Linked DNA regions of Homo sapiens: all the other regions are linked to region 2. Evidence: promoter capture Hi-C in 16 types of primary human blood cells and fetal thymus (Javierre and others, 2016). All regions are on one chromosome and are shown on one strand. The core of a region is centred on a gene start or on the middle of the fragment in contact, and the rest is flanking DNA. Distances in the headings are between cores, read along the strand shown.

Evidence for each region. Contacts are between HindIII fragments. The CHiCAGO score rates a contact against its expected background, and 5 or more counts as called.
Region 1: a contact is called between a fragment that was not itself captured here and the fragment with the promoter of GREM1 in region 2, in 6 of 17 cell types (M2 macrophages, M1 macrophages, M0 macrophages and 3 more). The highest score is 11.0, in M2 macrophages.
Region 3: a fragment that was not itself captured here is called in contact with the fragment with the promoter of GREM1 in region 2 in 4 of 17 cell types (naive B cells, M0 macrophages, M1 macrophages and 1 more); the score reaches 7.3 in naive B cells.

What each region holds. Positions count from the first base shown.
Region 1 is chr15:32,986,149-32,990,272 of GRCh38, forward strand. The region is part of intron 7 of FMN1 (formin 1); the gene reads right to left. Among named protein-coding and RNA genes, the nearest start is that of FMN1, 210 kb to the right of the region's middle. The HindIII fragment of the contact is 3,894 bases long and covers 142-4,035 here.
Region 2 is chr15:32,715,673-32,719,553 of GRCh38, forward strand. GREM1 (gremlin 1, DAN family BMP antagonist) reads left to right here and starts at 2,332. Exons shown (of 2, transcript NM_013372.7): 1 at 2,332-2,489. It overlaps GREM1-AS1 (GREM1 antisense RNA 1), which reads right to left and starts at 3,193. Exons shown (of 2, transcript NR_109767.1): 1 at 2,873-3,193; 2 at 2,429-2,692. RefSeq lists enhancers at 1,838-2,338, 2,476-3,054, 3,055-3,632. The HindIII fragment of the contact is 6,086 bases long and covers 584-3,881 here.
Region 3 is chr15:33,013,904-33,017,809 of GRCh38, forward strand. The region is part of intron 6 of FMN1 (formin 1); the gene reads right to left. Among named protein-coding and RNA genes, the nearest start is that of FMN1, 180 kb to the right of the region's middle. The HindIII fragment of the contact is 1,589 bases long and covers 775-2,363 here.

The sequences.
Region 1 (4,124 bases), core at 839-3,338, 270 kb after region 2:
TACCAAAAATATCCAGTTATGGATCTATCCAGGAAGAGGCAGAAGTTTCTGGAGCTGCACTTGTTTCATGTGGAATACTTGCAATTGAGGACATATAAGGGCTGACAGTGTACAAATGATAAAGTGTATCCGTTGAGGCTAAGCTTATATGCTTGAAAACAACAGTGAGAACCGGAATAAGGGTATTTTTGAGTAACAAGCAAATTCTAAAACCCCACAGAGAAGATTCCCTGACCACAGGGCATCAATACCCATCATTTTTACAAATAGTTTTGGCAAAGTGTCACACTGATTTATTTGAATTCACAAAGATCTGATGTAATATTTAAAAACAGATCTCTTCTTTGTGTAAACATAGATTAAGAAAAATGTAAATCTCCCATCTAGGTTTATTTTTTAATAGAAATTTTAATTATACATGTATAAATCTAGAGTGCTCAATGCCTTAACCAGTTAAAATAATAAACGGAATTTGGCAGAACATTTGTTCTGATTACTAGATGTTTAATGATACTTGGAACATCAAGATGCATGTGGAATTACACTCTACTAAGATGAAGACAGAATAACTTGGAAAAGATCAGATCTCATTTTGACTTGATTCTCTTCTCCTGGAATATAGACAAACCACATTCTTTTCCTCCCCCACCTTAGATTATACTATATTACTTTTGATTGATATTCATCTCCATAATTTGTGCTTTTTGAAAGAATAATTGTTATAAGAATTACGTATTTCAGGTTTTCTCTAGTAATTGGAAGGTATGAATTTAAATCTGACTTATTTCCTAACTGATCAAACATGGACTATAATTTATGAAATATTTTCAAAATAAACATTTAACTATCCTATTCAAACTTGAAATGTCACTTCAATTTTAGTTTGACTGAGGGTTATAGATGGCTACATTTTTTTCTCCCAGGCAATTTTTCTATTTTAAATGTTATTAGCTGCCCATATTAATAATGTGAAAAGGCAGAGACAGGATAACCTTAAAACTCATACATCATTTTTTCTTAAGTGTTTCAAAGGTTAATACCTAACCATAAAGGTTAATGATACAAGGTCAGCTGTATAACATCCACATGAAACCACATGACCGCTGTAGCGTTTCATACCATTGACATGTTGCTGTTTTGTGGAATGTATTTGTCAGTTACAAGAGATGACATGCTTGTTTGGTGCCATGTACCCTTTATGAAAAAATGAACTGGCTCAAGTATCCATGCCAGTCATGTACTCCGAATAATTACAAACTACTTCACACTCTAAATATTTAGATCACTAGGAATTTCAACGTTAGACCATCACCTTTCCCCCGACTGCACATCAGAGCAGAAGGCTTTCTGACTGCCTGTCCTTGAACATAACACTAACACAACATATGAAACTGATTAGGAGGACTGAGGTGTTTGAAAGAAAAAAACTTTGATTTTTATAAAGATTGGCATGAAGATCATTCTTCTCAGTTGAAATTTACTTTGATAAAATACACCCCCTTCTCAACTGCAGTTGCCAAGTATAAAAACAAATGCCTACTTTCTTCTGAATCACTTTTTTATATTTGTCTCATGTATTTTTCAGATTTTCACATCAGTGTAACACAGGTAAGAATAAAAGCATAGAATTAAATCCGAATATTTACCTATGAAGAAACACTTAACAGGCCAGTACTAAAACTTGGAGCTCATAAAAGGGGAAACATGTCTTTCTGTCGTTGAGTATAATTTAGTTTCAAAAGATGGTTTTTTGGGTTTGCTATGCAAAATCCTCTAGCAACAGTCACAGTTTCTCAGTACTGGTGTTTTAAAGTTCTTTGCTTTGGGTAGTGCCTCGTTGCAGGTTTAGGAGAAAAAAATGTTAAAAGGTATTCCTGACAGCTGGCAGCCTGTCTCTCCAGTTTTTTTTTTTTTTTTTTTTTCTTTTTTTAGGTAATTAGGTTGCTAATAAGCAGGGAGTGAGTGATGCTGTTGGACTCCAATGTTTGATTCTAGGTCACAGTAGGACATAGTCAATCTGGACACTGACCCATAGCTCACAAATCAGAAAAAAATCATCTGAGAATTAGAAAATAATCTACCAAGCTCCTATTTGTAAACCCTCAATACAATTCTTAACCTTGCAGAGATAAAGCGTTGGGGAAGAGGAAGTATTTTACAACCTTTTAATCTTAAAAAACAATAAATTTGAAATTGAGCAAAGTATTTGAAAGAGGTGGCCTTACTTTCCTCCAACTGATTTATACATTCGTAACAGAAGCGTGTTTGAGTTTGTGTCATCTGAAGATTCTGCTCTTAAATATGCTACTTTAAACCTAAGACAGCATATTCTCAGTACAACTCACCATTATGAGTTGAGTGATGGTTTTTCTGCCCATCACTTAGACTGTAGTCAACACTTTATCTTTGGCAGAGCAATTTCCACATGGCATAAATGATGGGGCAATGGACTGGGAAGAGGCTCGACTTTCAGTCATGGTGCTTCTATCAGTTTCCTGCCTGCGTGGTCTTGAGCCCTCTTGTTGCTAACTAGAAGTAACCAGACGGTGAATCTTACAGGGTGGCCAACTTCCTTGGCTACAATAAACCCCGTTGTTGTTGTGATCATGTCACCTCCCTTTAATGTATTGAGAAAGTTGAGAACCATTAAGCTAGATTCTAAGACCAACTCTTTTACCCTTTAGCTCCCCATCTATAAAATGAACAGGTTTCCAAAATATCACAAATTCAAGTAAGTCTATGTTGCTTCCACTTAAGCTAACGCAAATCATCATGCAAATGTTGTCTAAACGCACAACATCTGATAAATGCACATTTAAGACAGTCAGAAACAGTAAATGTCATTCTCCCAGCAGAAAGTCATAAACTGTCAAAAATATCTTTTAAAAAACCTTCTGGAAACACAGTTTTTCCACTACAGTTTTCCTTTGTCTCTGAGTTTGAAAAATATTACCTGTGAAATCACTTTGGTTTACATCCAGTTTCCACTATAGGGGAAGAAAGGAAGACCAACCAGTGATTAATTTATAGACTAATGCATTACTGTGATGGCAGATTCAACTGTTTGTTGTTTAGTGAAAGTTTATGTCCGTCATGTACATGACACTGGGGATGGAAGGTAGGTGGAGGTACCTCTGCTTTCATAATTATAATGTGAGAACTAGTCTGCTAAGTGCCTAAGTCAATTCAAAATTTCCGAGGAGGAAGCCTTAGGGAATTAGAGATGGTTTCATGTATGATGAGGAACCCTTGCAGGGCACAAAGAATTGGCAAAGGTAAAATGATGATTGTGAGAAATCCAAGTGAAAGATAAAAGCATGCTGGAGGGAAAGTGTAGGGAAATAGCGGAAGAGAAAACCATAATAATTCCCCACCCTTTGTAGTCAAGTGCAGTTTAGCCCCTTCACCCGCCCCCCACCAAAAGAAAGAAAGCCAAGATAAATTGGAGGGTCTTAAATACCATGCTCAAGACTTTGAACTTAACTTGACAGACAGTAGTGAGCCACCAGAGGTGTTTTAAGAGACGGGCAACAACCTAAATAATCGATAAGGTGGGCTGAATACACGCAAGCTATGCTCAAGGCCTATGTTAGGATGATGGGAACAGGATGCCAAGCAGTGAGTATATATGAAACCACAGAGCCCAGATTAACATAATTTGGTAATCAACTAGATGTGAAGCAGAGGGTGCAGGAGTTGTCAAGGATGCATCTGAGGTTTTTGGCCTAGACTTTTAGTTTTAGGAGAACCATGACACCGTACATATACAGGGTAGCTAAGAAAGCAGATTGCTTTTTGTCATGTTTACATTGGGAGGGGAAGAGGAGGAGGATTCAGAAGGAGACAAGTAGATGAAAATAAAGATCCCTTTCTATGGTGGGCTTATAAAACTTTTTGGATGCTCTGGTTTTGGGAATTTTAAATTTGAGATACTAAAAATATTTCCCAGTGTAGCTTTCCACAAAAACTTATCTGTAACTCAGGAAGAAGTTTGAATTCAAATAAATAGGTCTGAAAAGCACTTACACAGAGATAAGCTTGTGGCAATAAGGGAAATCTCCAAGAGACAAAATATAAAAGGTCAGGTGACTAACCAGCCACAATTTGGCGTGCTGCAGAGGCAA
Region 2 (3,881 bases), core at 1,082-3,581:
GTTTCTATATAAATATTTACAAACATACTAGACTATAAATTCTTTGAGGTGAGGGCCTGTGTTTATCCTATCCACGATGGTTATACCCTCAGCATTTGGTTCAGCTGACAATCTTAGTGGGAATGTGCTCAACATTCTCAATCCACAACTATTTATTGAATCTGAGTGCTGTGTTAGACAATCTATATTCTATGTGCTTCATGTAATCAAAGTGACCTAGACAAAATCCCTGCCCTTATGAACCTTACATTCTAGTGGCAGGAAATACTATAATGCCAGGGAGAAGGGAGAGAGAAATGAGAATGAAGAAAAATGATGCAGTGATGCATAGCCCTCTCTATCTCTTTGGGATACAGAGAGGGGGCGTGTGTTGTGGGGAGGAGGTGGGGGCTCTATTATAAAAAATATGGCCTGAGAAACTGCATGAGGAAGAGTCATCATGATTTGATACATGGAGATAGAGAAAACCACAGTGTCAGGGCTCCAAAAAAAAAAAATCACTTCCATTTTGGGAGGTAATTTCAGCTTCTTTGTATTTGATTTGGGGCAGTATATAAGTCTTGGGAAAAAAAGAAGTGACTAAAGCTTTTATTTTAGATGAGGAGGACTTAATGAATTTGTAAAATATGCTCCCTTTTGTGGGGAGAAGTACAGCAGTTTGCACGTTGGGAGAACAGCTGGCTCCAATACAGCTTGGTGGTGGGCTTCGACTGAACTGGTCATCGCCTAAGTATTTTGTGTATTTCTGATTACCTATCTCTCCAGGAGCCCACGTGAGCAAGACAGGTCTTCAAGCTGGTTCAATGCTCCCATTCTGTAGGCAACTACAAACTGTGGCTCACTGCATGACTTAACAACAACTGATTGAGAATTGTAAAGTGCAGCCTCGAGTTCATGTGTAGAAACTGCCATCTGCACAAACAAAACATTGAGAGGACTAAGATTTTAAGGATACTAATGCAGACGTCCTTCTTGCTTCATTTATTTAAAAATATCTATTTCACGTTCCTAACAGCATCTAGTAGATGTTTCTTGCTTCTTCCCCCTAACGCCGGACTAAAGAGAAAAAAAAAATAGGCTGTTTTCTGGTCTGGTTTTGTTTTCCTAGTCAAGTACTTAAATTACGGGTGTTTCGTAAGTATCTTTTGATGGATTTCATTGTTTTGTTTATTTCGCGTTAGACAATACAGACACCTTCATATTTCCTTCTGTAGCAAATCTTTTTCAAAGTCTTCATTTGACGTGGCTGATGGAGCTGGTCTGCAGATCTTGCAGACGTGTTAATTTTTGCACGGACTTTAGCTTCAACACACAAAACTTACGGCCTCTTTGAGGAACCAATTTTTCAGGCTAAGAGAACAAATGAAAGTGTTCGCTCATCTTTCGAAAACTATTTATGTACTTGGTATCCGGAATGTGACATTGGTTTTACACGTCGGTAGGTTTTTGTCCTAAATTTCTGGGAAGTTACTTCCTCATCTAACGTTTTATTTTCCTGACTTATTCGTCTTTGATATGCTACAGAAAACCCCTCTCGCCCAGTGGCTGTTTTCTCTCTGTCTCTTAAGATAATTTAGGAACAGAAGCCTTGACTTTTGACGGTCATTTAGTTTTATTCTCCTCCCGTGACTCCCCTCTGTACACTCACAGGGGAGGCCGCCGGCATCTGGGCTGAAAGAACCCTTGGCGGGCGAGGAGAGCAGGGTGTCATGTTGGCGACAGGCTCCTGCTGGCGGCCAGCGAGCCCGCCAGGTTAACGGGGGCGCCGGGGTCAGCGCCCTCGAAGTTGGGGGCCTCGGGCGGGGCCGCCGGGGAGCCACGACGGCCGCTCGACCAGAGCATCCCGCAGTCCCGTTCCCTCCAGAGGGGAAGAATGGCCGAATCTGGCACGATCCCACGGAGATCTCGCTCTTCCCAGCGCAGTCTCCGCTACTGAGCGCGGGACCAACGCAGGCGATGCCGGGCGGCCGACAGGGAAAGCCCAGACCTGGGGCAGAGAAGGAATGAGGGGCCGCCAGCCGGGGGGATTTCCTCCCGCTCTTCCCTCTCCAACGGGAGCGGAAAATGTGATTTGCTGTGCATTCCAGGCGCGGTTCCCTGGGGTGACCTCTCCCAGCCGGCCCGGGCGGGGGGAGCAGACAAAGAGGCGAGGCGGGCGGAGAGGGGACCCCGCGGGGAAGCAGGAGGGGTGCGGGGGGCGGGGGCAGTACCGGGAAAGGGGGCGGATAGCGGGTCTGGCGGCGGCGGCGGCGCCTGGCCAATGGAGAGGCGCGGCCCCGGGCGCCGCGCTCTGCCGCCGGCATTTAAACGGGAGACGGCGCGATGCCTGGCACTCGGTGCGCCTTCCGCGGACCGGGCGACCCAGTGCACGGCCGCCGCGTCACTCTCGGTCCCGCTGACCCCGCGCCGAGCCCCGGCGGCTCTGGCCGCGGCCGCACTCAGCGCCACGCGTCGAAAGCGCAGGCCCCGAGGACCCGCCGCACTGACAGGTGAGCGCGGACGCACCCGGCAGGGATGTGAGTGGGCGGAGGGAAGAGGGCCGCAAACCAACCCAGGACCCGCTCAGTTCCACGCGCGGCAGCCCTCCGTGCGCGCAGGCTCGGGTGCGTTGTTCGCGGGGGTGAATTGTGAAGAACCATCGCGGGGTCCTTCCTGCTGAGGCCGCGGACACCGTGACCTCGCTGCTCTGGGTCTGCAGGGAAACGTAGGAAAAAAAGTTGTCAGGAGCGGGCAGGATGACCCCCACATCCCGTTTCCACCTCCCGGAGGCCCCCGAACACGCTCCTGGTGCTGGTGGCAGCAGCGCCTGGCAGACGCGCCCGCTTAGCGAGGGCGCGAAGTCCAGGCCGCCAGAGCGCAGGAGCATCCGGACCTGCTAGTCGGCCGCTGACTGCGCGGCGAGTTGCCTTGAGAGGGTCCCATGTGCTTGGGGCGCCGCGCTGGGTCTGGGGGCGTCTTGGGGCGCCCATTGGAGTCCGCGGGTTGGAGCATCCGGAGAATCCATGATGTGTGCATTTGCCGATCCCCGAGGTGAGATGGAGACTGGCAAGGGCAGAGCCGCTGTGTTCAGCCACAGCGGAAAACCGAACGGTGGGTAATCCGACAGCTGCGGTGCGGGGCGCGGCCCTGGCCGCGGGGTCCAGCGAACCCGCAGTGCTCACAAGGCAGACACCACACGCGCTCGCGGACCGGCCACGCACTCGCGGGCGCTCGCTTCTCTACTCCAGCCTCTTCCCCGCCCCGCGCACGCCCGGGCTGAATGGTAGACGTTCTGGCGCCGGGCAGCGGCCACCGGCTGGTTCCCACTTCCGCGCGCACCCCTTAAACTGTGTTCTAGAGGCCCCAGCCTCGCCTTGCAGCGCCTCACTAGCTCCTGAGGACTAGGGACTGGCGGCTGAGGCGGGTTGGCGGCTGCAACGAGCTGGGCGTCTTTCGTTCTCTCTCGCTGCCTGGCTGGCTCCGCTGGCCCCTCCACAGCTTGCGGAGCAAGGCCATAGCAGGGGAGTGGGAGGTATATTGGGGCTGTCACCTCCTTGCTGGCCGGAGTTATTTGTAGACTACAGACTCCGGAAGAACAGACGCGCCACCGCTCTCGCTTGGCATTGCCTTCGGATCGCAGCTCCTCCTTGGGGGTGCCCCAGCTTGGCGTTTATTTGCCTGCGCCAGGCTCTGGCGACGGTCACCGGGCCAGGCGGGGAGGGACGGACGGCAGGTGACCAGCCTCTGCTGTGAAGAAATTCCTGCGCGCCCGGAGCTGTCCCTAATGCATTCCCGGGTCGAATCCGTCTACTGCCTTCCCCTCCTCGACCGACTCCGAATCTCGGCTCTTATAGACAGAAATACAGCCTCAGCGTTAGGGGTTAAAATCCCCCTCTTAAACG
Region 3 (3,906 bases), core at 319-2,818, 300 kb after region 2:
ATTTTGTGTAAATTGTACCTATATGGGTGTGACAGATATCGCTATGACTAATTCATTAACAAACCGATGAAGGAGACTACTGCAAAGCTAACATCTAGGAAAGCATGATTCATCTCCTCCTTTAACAAATATTTTTACCAAGAGTCCCAGTGTGACGGGTGGCAGGAAACACACTCCCATCCCAACAAGGATGACAGAATCCCTGGGCAGCATGTAGAAGGAGGAAGCTAATGCCTTTACTACTGGCATTGGTGAATGCTCACTTTGAGAGTTCACAAGAGAGTAGTAAGAGAATATAAAGGTTACAGAATAATGTCCATGAGTCAAAACTAAGTTAGTGCTTTCCAAATGTGTCTTGTTAGTGGCAGCCCCCTGCCCCCAGATGCTTCTTGAGGCTTGCAGATGCCTGAGTGTGAGGATGGGGAGGCAGAGGTGTCAACTCAAGACCAAGGATGTGTGTATTTGTTAAAAAGAGAACTTGACCCTAGCATTGGTATTCAGTAGCTCTGGGACCTTATAAGTGTGTGAAAAGGAGGAACAGGAATTCTACATCAGGGTTGAAAAGGGCAGACTCATTTGAAGTCACATTAGCCCCTAATGGAAGTTAATAAATCAATTTAAATAATCTATTCCACAAGAAACAAGTCTAAAGAACGTCTTTTTGAAAACAATAATGTAGTCCATGAAAGACAGAGAAAGGAGTAAGGCTCCTAACTGGCAGGATTCAACATTTTGGAGGAAAAAAAAATGAAAGAACTTTCTCTGTACAAATAAAGCTTTCTTAGTCTAGTATTTAGCTAATTGGTTCCTTCCCTTTATGTTGCACAAACCTTCCTTTTTGATCAGTTCACAATAACAAAACATCCTTCCTGCCAGGTGTCATTACAAAGTTTGTGCCCTCCAATTTGTGAAGAGCAGAATTACAGATGATTCCACAAACACAGAAGGCATGCAGTAACCACTGCTGAAGTCCATCACTTACTAAATGAGTTTACCTAATTACATATGGGTACGGATAACATTATTGAGGGTTATTTTTCAGGAATAGTTCTAAGCACTTTACACAGATTAACTCCTGCCATCCTCACATCAAATTGAAAAGGTAGACCCTATCATATCGAGACTTACTTTACAGATGAGAAAACGCCTCAGGTTGAACAGCTTTCCTAAAACCACATGCTAGTTAAGTGCCAATAATATCATTCAGACCCAAAGAACGTGTGCTGGCTCTGCAGAGTTTTTGTTTATTCCCTTGTTTTCGTTCTTGCCGTTCTTTTGGTTACATAAGCAGCAGATGCAAACAAAACCCCAAGCCTCTGTAAACTTCAAAGTTGCTTGCTTTATCCTATTACCAGAATCACTCGTAAACTTGGGGTAACTTTTTTCATAATTCTGTAAAAGGGGAATGCTAATTTTAATCACAGGGAGGTTTGAAGAGCCAGGGGTCAGAGTGAATGGTGTGAATTTCAATGGCTGGCACCGACAAGTTCTGTGATTATGATTCGTCTGTCTTTTCTAAGGGAATTTCAGGGCCTGTAGTTACTAGTTTCTGGTTAAATCTGATTTTCATTTATGCGCTCTTTCTTACACATATATCCAAGCCTCCACCGCATCACACACGCACATGACATGGGCAAAACTGGATTATGTACAGTTAGGAAGTAGAAACTTTCTGAATTCTCCACTGAGTAGGAAACATGGATCTACTCCTACCCGCGGATCCTGATATGTCCGGCCTGTGCCTCTCACTGGCCTTTACCCACTACCTCACATTGTTGTATTTTCAAGTACATATGTGACTTAAAAAAAAAAATCATTCCTCTGAATTATACTTGGACGATACTCAATCAGTGCTTCCAAAACTTAGCACACACACCGGCAAGGTCATTTTTTGTAGGTATCTGAACTTTTTATTTTGACAGTTAAATGTTTTAATGTGCATTAGGGAAAAATTATCAAACACACACATAAAACCCGTGATTTCACTGATAATGCTTCCCAGATAGTGTTGATCGGAGTTTGGTCCCTGGACCAGGAGCATCAGCATCACCTGGAACATCTTAGAAATGCAAATTCTTTCCTCTACGGTGGATTTATTGACTTGGAATCTCTGAGGCTACTTTACCAAGCCTACCAAGTGATTATAATGCACAGCAAAGTTTGAGAACCACTGCTTTAATAAGGCTTATTTAAGCAAAAACAGTAAATTCATTAAAATAACAAATTAAATAATAGTAAAAATAGTATAAATATGTATCAAATTTCAAGAAGCTGGTGCATAAAGGATGACATTTGAAAAAATATGCTAATCACTGACAGATAAATACAAATTCAAACAAACTCATCCGTGAGTGAATGCACAAAGCTTCTCTGACCATTTCTAACATTGACAAAAATGGTCACAGTTCATGTAAGGCAGAGTCACAAGTCATTTATTCCAAAATCTAAGAATAAAAATCAAATGTGAGCTTTCATATTTAATAAGCTTATGAAACCAAAGTGTGCAGCCTGGTCTTGGGGCCCTGCGAGTCCTCTGTTTCCCTTCCAGATGCTTATAAACAATGCAGTCCTTAGTAACTGTGCAGTTTGAAGAAAGCATAACCGGTTTTGTGTCTGTCAGAAACAGTGGAGGTAGATTCAAAGGCAGTGAAGTAAAGAGAAAGTAGTCAACAGCTGCCAGCAGAGCTTTTTAACTGGGTGTCTCAGGCTAGCAGCTGGTGAGAGGCTGTTACCTGTAATGTTGATCCAACACCTTTTGTCAGCGGGCCTTCAACCAGCACACACGTCAGCAAAAGCACAGGAAGAGATCTAACTCCACTGTTTGATGATTGACTCCTGACAGTTTTTAAGCCTCACCCCTCCTTCTTCCCCGGTGTCCCACACACCTGGGCGATCTGATAGTAAAGGCTTTGACGCAGGAGATGTGAACCACACAGACCACTGCCCGCAGAAGCCATAGCCCAGTACTGTCTGTTGAACGCCATAAAAACCCCAAGCCAGTTTTCTACACTTTCTCTTGCAAGTCATTTTTGGACCAGCTTGAGAGGCCTGTCTCGCTTTCCCCAGAGGTCTCCTTATGTGAATAATAAATCTTTTCATGCCCTTGTGTGTGTGCAAACACATAATGCATCTGCGGTCATCAATATTGGCATCTCAATCAAATTTGGGGTGGCTGGGGTTCACCCTGCCTCTTCAAAAAGGATGAGGCCGTACCCTAGAACTTAAAGCATAATTTAAAAAAAAAAAAGTGGTTGCCAAGGCCTTGGGAGGAGGGAGGAATCAGTGGAGCGACAGGGGGTTTTTAGGACAGTGCAACTACTCTGTATGCTACTATAATAGTTGATACGGGTCATACATTATTCAAAATCCATCTTCAGTACAGAGCCAATTCTAATGTAAACTGTGGACTTTAGTTAATAATAATGTATTGGGTCAACTGTAACAAATGTACCACTCCAATGGAGAATGCTAATACTAAGGGAAAGTGTGGTATGTGGGCGCAGTAGACGGTGAGAGGGAACTCTACTTTCCGCTCAATTTTTCTATCAACCTAAAACTACTCTAAAAATAGTTGATTTTTTTTTTCAAAAAAGAAGTGAATTATCAGTGAGTCAACCTACTATGTTGTTCAATAACTTACAGAAAGGAGCCTAATTTCTATATCAGAAAAATAAAATATTGGACAATAACTGGGAGAAATCCCATGAATTTAGGAATTGTAACTGTCAACCTTTCCTCATTCAACACATAAGAATTTCTTTAGGCAAAAATATAAAAATGTCAGTATCAAAAGATGGGGGGAAACTTCTAATTCTCCAAGCCACTAGTTTCTTACCGCTATGGTTTGAATGTTTGTGTCCTACTAAAATCCATATGATGGGCTGGGTGCAGTGGCTCACGCCCGTA